Linked DNA regions of Homo sapiens: region 2 is linked to region 1. The links are contacts of gene promoters, found by promoter capture Hi-C in blood cells and fetal thymus (Javierre and others, 2016). All regions are on one chromosome and are shown on one strand. The core of a region is centred on a gene start or on the middle of the fragment in contact, and the rest is flanking DNA. Distances in the headings are between cores, read along the strand shown. Region 1 holds the start of CD244 (CD244 molecule). Region 2 has its middle 22 kb from the start of ITLN1.

Region 1 (3,450 bases), core at 488-2,987:
CCGAGTTCTGTTTCCAGGGGATGATAGGTCATCCACATGCCTGGTGGGAAGGATGGAGCTGGTGTTGGGGTCAGGATTGGAGAGGCTGATTCCTAATTCACATTCATTAGTGGGTTCCAACAGCTGGATCTTGTTTTCCACCTGTCGTGTGAGGAAGTTTACCCTTCTTTGTTATATCATGTCTTGTGCACCACTTCTCAAGGTTAAGGACATGGCCAGATCAACTCTGAAGAAATTCCCCAGGGTTGAGGGCTGCCCCTTGGGAGCAGACAAAGGAGAGAAGAGATGATAACCATTAGACCCGCTGGAAAAAGCTATTCAGAGCTTAAAAAAATGAAAACAAAACCACAAAAACCTCATCTATGTCCAGTGTTTTTTGTGTGCATATTCTGGAGTATCATTTTTAATTTGATCCTGAAAACTGCCTTGTGAAGGTGGGGAGGATGTATTGTTGACCCTACAGGCTCAGACAGCAACAAGGCCAGAATCACATAGGTTGTAAGTTGCTGAATGGGAGCTGCAAGTCCAAGTCTTTGACTCTAAATCCAGCGCTCTGTCCAGAGCCCCGCTGCTGCCTCTGTTGGCAGCTGAAGCTGTCAGTCTGCTGCCCCCTGCCCAGTTCAGACAGGGTGGCTGGAAATGGACCAAAGGATGGAAAAAGAGAATAAGAGCGGACTTGAAGGGAACTGAAAGTATTTGTTAAGGGGAAAGCAGAAGGAAGAAAGAAAGAGGCATGAACCCTGGGGCCTGGCCTTGAAGCACAGTGTTCCAGGGGAGGGGGGATGCCGCTGTCCCCACCCCTCCATGGGGGCCTAAGCAGATCCAGAGCTGCCTGGCCTTCCTGGAGGGTGGCGTCCAAGCATGGATGGGAAGGCAGCAAAAATAGGCCCATGTCACTTCTGGGAGAAGACAAAAGAGGGAAGAGAGGACTACTATAGAAAAGTAGAAAAAGAGGAAGGGAGGGAATCTAGGCATACAGATCGGAAATGTGGAGCAAAACAAAATTTTTTTTTTTTTTTTTGAGACACAGTGTCGCTCTGTCACCTAGGCTGGAGTGCAGTGGCGTGATCTTGGCTTACCGCAACCTCCACCTCCTTTGCTCAAGTGATTCCCCTGCCTCAGCCTCCCAAGTAGCTTGGATTACAGGTGCACGCCACCCAGCCTGGCTAATTTCTCTATTTTTAGTAGAGGTGGGGATTCACCATATTGGCCAGGCTAGTCTCGATCTCCTGATCTCAAGTGATCTGCCTGCTTCAGTCTCCCAAAGTGTTGGGATTACAGGCGTGAGCCACTGTGCCCCGTGTGAAACAAATTCTTATGAAACAAATTTAATTTACATGTGCTTAAACTTTGGTGTCAACTTGCATGGAATCCCCAGGCTTGCTAGATTTTTCTAGTGCCTCCAGCCCTTAGGTCTCTTCCTATGTTCTCTCAGCTACTCCTCCTTTCCTTCAACACTGTTAGCCGCTTATCCAGGGCCCTACGTTTCAGCCCACTCCTCCTCCAGCCCCTCTCCACTCCACCTCCACAATGTCTGTTGGAATGGAACAGTTGGGGATACTGGCTGTTTGGCCCCCATGGGGGTCTCTCCATATAGGATTCAGAGAATTGGAAGACTTCTTGGGCTGAAGCAGAGAACGGGATGCAATTTTGAAACTGGCTTTGTGAGTCACTGTGAACTTCAAGCACCCTCCCACTTGAGGTAAGCTTCACCAGTTTGGCTTGTGGGAACTGTCAGACCAGCTCCAGGCGCTGGGGCTTTCTCAGTGGCCTTGTCAGCTCACAGCAGGCGTTAACAGCCTCTAATTGAGGAAACTGTGGCTGGACAGGTTGCAAGGCAGTTCTGCTCCCCATCGTCCTCTTGCTGACTGGGGACTGCTGAGCCCGTGCACGGCAGAGAGTCTGGTGGGGTGGAGGGGCTGGCCTGGCCCCTCTGTCCTGTGGAAATGCTGGGGCAAGTGGTCACCCTCATACTCCTCCTGCTCCTCAAGGTGTATCAGGGCAAAGGTAAGGAGGTCCTACCTGGCGTGGGGCGAGGGAGGGACTAGGAGCTGTGCCCCTCAGGGAGATCAGAGCCAGAGCCTCTGCTTGTGCCACATACACAGTCATCTGGAACTTGACTCCGAGCAGCTCCTGACAGCTCTGACAGTCTAAATCAGACAGGACAGGCTGGCAGTGCACTGGGAGGTCTGTGAGAGGGGTATCTGGCCCTGCCACCAGCAATCCAGGAAGTCTTGGGTGAGGAGATTCCTTCCCACTGGCTTCAATTTACCCTTCCGTGTAGTGGAGAGAGAAGCCTCCTTCCAGCCGCCTGTAAAGATGATGAAAATTGCATCCTCCAATTGTGGCATGAGAGAAGAGAAGCAGTCCCAAGGAAGTGGGTGGTTCTCGAGCTCAGAGACAGATGGATGGACCCCTGAGGCAGGAAAGCTGAGCCCAGGGAGGGGAGGGCGAGGCCAGCAGCCAGGAAGAAGCTGGAAGGCATGGTCCCTCATCTCCCCGGCTTCTTCAGCCATCCAGATGCCACAGGAGCCTGGAAATTATTAGGGACATGCAGGGTTGGGGCAGAAGAAGGAGACAATATGAGGAAGCTCCACAGCAAACCTAAAGCTGTCAGCCAGGCATGGAGCCATCTAACATTTACTCCTGGGGATCCCAGCTGAGGGCTGCTCCCCTCTTTCTCCAGTTCTGGGGTCCAGGATGCTCTGAAACCTGGATCCCGCATTTAATTTAATTGAATTAATTTATTTATTTCATTTTTAATTTTTATTTATTTATTTATTTTTTGAGACAGAGTCTCCTTCTGTCACCCAGGCTGGAGTGCAGTGGCGTGATCTTGGCTCACTACAAACTCTGCCTCCCGGGTTCAAGTGATTCTCATGCCTCAGCCTCCCGAGTAGGTGAAATTACAGACGTGCGCCACCATGCTTGGCTAATTTTTGTATTTTTAGTAGAGACCAGGTTTCACCATGTTGGCCAGGCTGGTCTTGAACTCCTGACCTCAGGTGATCTGCCCACCTTGGTCTCCCCCATCCAAAGTGCTGGGATTACAGGTGTGAGCCACCATGCCCAGCCAGGGTTCTGCATTTTAGATCAGTGACTCTGCAGGGGCTTCACGGAGGTGGAGAGCGTGGAATTAGAGGAGGGTACACTCTGGGCACAAAGAGGGGAAACTGAGGCATAGTGTTGTGTGGGTTCAGGGCCAGGTAGAAGCCCCATATGCAATAAAGTCCCATGCCCAGGTACTCAATTCAGTTACCGAGTCCCTGAGCATTCTTGTGTCCTTCAGGAAGACACAGTCAAGGCTCAGGTGGACTCAACATTTGTAAGGATGCAGGCAGCCTAGGGCAGAGCATGATGAGGAACAGGGAGCAGGGAGGGAGGAGTGGAGCCTGCAGCTCTTGTGGGTGGGTTGGGGGGCCTAGTGGCCCAGGATTCTAGGCAGGAGAG
Region 2 (3,450 bases), core at 344-2,843, 45 kb before region 1:
CCTTAGTGAGATTAATGGTAACAGCAGAAATAAAGGTCAAGTTTGCGGGCTTGGCATCCCTTTTGAGGTGACAGTAAAGATACTCCAGAGGAATAAGAGTAATGTGCTTATCATGGGCTATTGTAGAAAAACAAAGAAGGGGGTTGCTAGACAATAAAGTCAAGGAGTCATTGAGTTTAATCCATCCCAAATTTTCAGTTAAGGGGTAAGACAGGGGCATCCATCGACCTCCCATCCAAGAAGTATCATTAGATGACAAAGGCGGGTCAGCATCCCACCACATAATAACATTTCCAACAGTGGGATTCAGAATATGATTCCAGTAAACATGTTCTTGAGCTGATCCCACTTGGCAAAGGATGAGAATCACCAGCCACCCCAGCATCCATGTCTGTCTTACTTTCTCAAAAGCTCCCCCAATTACTGCCAGATACATAAGAAACCAATTCTCTGCAATTGCAGGGGCTCCCATGGCAACAAGCTGGATAGTTGCCTGTTGATCCAATTTCTTTAGCTGCCCTCAGGTAATGTCAGATGCCTTCCGAGTCATCGCTATCATTGCTGGTCGATTCTCCAACGACAGGTCTTTCATCATCAGGAGGGGTTCAGTTGTCTCCTACCTGTTCTCGAGGAGAAAGCCCAATATTCCCCCTTTTTTGTTTGTTAAGATATACTTTAAGAGTTTGATGAGCTCGCTCAACATTGGCCTGACTGGTTGAGTTATAAGGAATGCCAGTCTTGTGTTGTATGTGCCACAGTTGTAAATGCATATGTAAATCGAGCACTAAGACAGCAATGTCTATTATCAGTTTTTGTAATTTGTGGAAGGCCTAAAGTCATAATAGATTTAAAAAGATGAGCAATTGCATCTTTAGTTTTTTCTGTAGTCTGAGGAGTAGCATATTTCAGGCCTGTATAAGTGTCTACAGTAACGTGGAGAAATTTGAAGCATCTAAAGGGTGGATGCTGAGTAATATCAGTTTGCCAGATAGCATTAGGCACCAGACCTCGTGGGTTGGCACCAAGTCCTAACGAAAAAGGGGAGAGCGAATGCCATTGGCAGTCAGGACAGGTTTTAATAATCATGCGAGCTTGAGTGAGCGCCAAATAAAACTGTTGTTTAAGACTGTGGTTGTTCTGATAAAAAAAGGAATGATCAGCTTGAGCTTGCAAAAATGTAGGAGATTCTGTAAACCACGGAGCTTAGTGTTAATATGTGACTTTAGACAACAATGTTTTTATATTTTAGGAAGCTTGAAGCTAACAATATATTAAGACAATGATCTCTTTATAATTTACAATAAATAAAGTGAAAGTTTGTATTTTATATTGTTTAAAACATAAGAAGATTTTATTTGAAAAGACTTTTAAAAAAATATGAAGGCTTTCTCTTAGGGTAAGAATTATGTAATTATGTTGCCCAAGTAATACAGTGATGGAAACAAGACAATATTTTATCTTTCTTTTCTTCAGTTGAATGCTAATAGACAATAGTTTTTTGCTTAGCTAGGAGCTTAAATACTGTTTGGGAGAAGTGGGATATTTATTAGTGGGTTGCAGGGAATAAATGAAATCACCTTAGTAGAGGATGCTGCTATACTTTTATCAATGTCCACTGACATTGGTTTGAAAGTGGAAATCTTTTGTGTAAAGGCCTGGGGATTTTTTGCCTATATCTTAAGTATATCTCTGGGCTGGCAGCCCCTTAATATACTCAGAAAAGTAAAATATAGGTTACAAGATACTTTAAAAATTTATTTTGACTAGTGAGTTTGTTTCTAGTTGATTCACCTAATTAGAGATGTTACAAATCATTTTATATGATTGAACACATGTGAGTGTTGTTTTCCTGGAGACTGGGTTTCATTACAAGCATTCTGATTTGGGCCCCATTGAAGTTTTTCTTTCTCTAGCCCTTCTAAACTAAGCTTTTTAGAACTCACTCACAAGTTGTATGAATTTTGACAGACTTTTATTTTATCTTCTGATTTATTCCGTGTGCAGTGGATTTGAATAGCAGAGTTTTTTTATAGCTCTGCTGATGTGATGTTGGTCACTACGTGCAGCTTGCAATCAGTTGATAAATTCAACGTATGTTTCTGTGGCACTCTGTTTAACTGTTATAAAGGAATGTTTCTGTGGCACTCTGTTTAACTGTTATAAAGGAACCCTGGGATTGTCCCGTGGGTATCCTCTTCTATGCCTGTATTGCTAGCTGCAAGCATTGTGGAAATAGATGGCTGTTTATTTGAGCTTGAGCCTGAGCTCAAGCAAAAGGACCTGGTCCCAATAGCATATCAAGCTGTGTTGGGATATTATTATCCAAATTTTGCAAGGGCTGCTGCATGGATAGATCACTGTACTCACTCCACCGCACAGTATATTCTGCAGCTGAAACCAAAACTTTTACTAAAGTTTTCCAATCATGCGGAGTCATCTTATAGCCATTTCCCAGAGCCTCAATCATCCCCTGGGTAAAGGGTGAATGTACACCATTTTCACAGATACTTTTCTTTATCTCTTTAAAAACAGTAAAAGGCAAACTCTCATGCCGTCTCCTATCATTTTGAACAATGACAGGGAATGCGCCAAAAAGTGCCTAAGAGTCTCCCTTTTTAAGTCCCTCCTGGAGGCACCCCTCTACTAGGGAAGTTTGATGAGGAGTCGTCACTGAGAACGCGTTCACCTGATCATATATGTCAGGCCTCTGAGCCCAAGCTAAGCCAACATATCCCCTGTGACCTGCACGTATACATCCAGATGGCCTGAAGCAACTGAAGATCCACAAAAGAAGTGAAAATAGGCTAAACTGATGGCATTCCACCATTGTGATTTGTTCCTGCCCCACCCTAACTGATATGATATATTCTCCCCTGCCCTTAGGAAGGTACTTTGTAATATTCTCCCCGCCCTTGGGAATGTACTTTGTATGCCTATCCCAAACCTATAAGAACTAATGATAATCCCACCACCTTTTGCTGACTCTCTTTTCAGACTCAGCCCGCCTGCACCCAGGTGATTAAAAAGCTTTATTGCTCACATAAGCCTGTTTGGTGGTCTCTTCACACGGACGTGCGTGACAATATAGATGTTCACTGACAGGGGGTCTTATCCAAGAACCGTCCATCCCTTGGGTGGCCTCCAATCTCCTCCAGGGGGATGGGAGGCACTGTAGCCTGAACAGGGCCAATAGATGTGGATTTTTTTAGGGGTGGAGGAAAGGAGGGCAATGGCTTTTCTATTGGGGGAGGAAAAAGCTCCGGTCTGTCCTCATCATCACTAGAAAGTGTCCTCCTTATGCCCTACGGAAGGGAATGAAGTAGGGAGAGGAGCCCCTCCCTGTTGTTCTGGTTCCTGTTTTTCTTTAAATCTCCTGAATTCCCTTCAGGTGGAGCTAATGGGCAGTCTGACTCACCGCAATCTGGCATATAAAGAGGGTACAATGCAGAG

What was found. Contacts are between HindIII fragments. The CHiCAGO score rates a contact against its expected background, and 5 or more counts as called.
Region 2: a contact is called between a fragment that was not itself captured here and the fragment with the promoter of CD244 in region 1, in 1 of 17 cell types (erythroblasts). The highest score is 6.5, in erythroblasts.

What each region holds. Positions count from the first base shown.
Region 1 is chr1:160,861,174-160,864,623 of GRCh38, reverse strand. It overlaps CD244 (CD244 molecule), which reads left to right and starts at 1,737. Exons shown (of 9, transcript NM_016382.4): 1 at 1,737-2,007. The coding sequence starts at 1,947. RefSeq lists an enhancer at 1,872-1,921. The HindIII fragment of the contact is 2,100 bases long and covers 1,710-3,450 here.
Region 2 is chr1:160,905,743-160,909,192 of GRCh38, reverse strand. No RefSeq gene overlaps it. Among named protein-coding and RNA genes, the nearest start is that of ITLN1, 22 kb to the right of the region's middle. The HindIII fragment of the contact is 675 bases long and covers 1,256-1,930 here.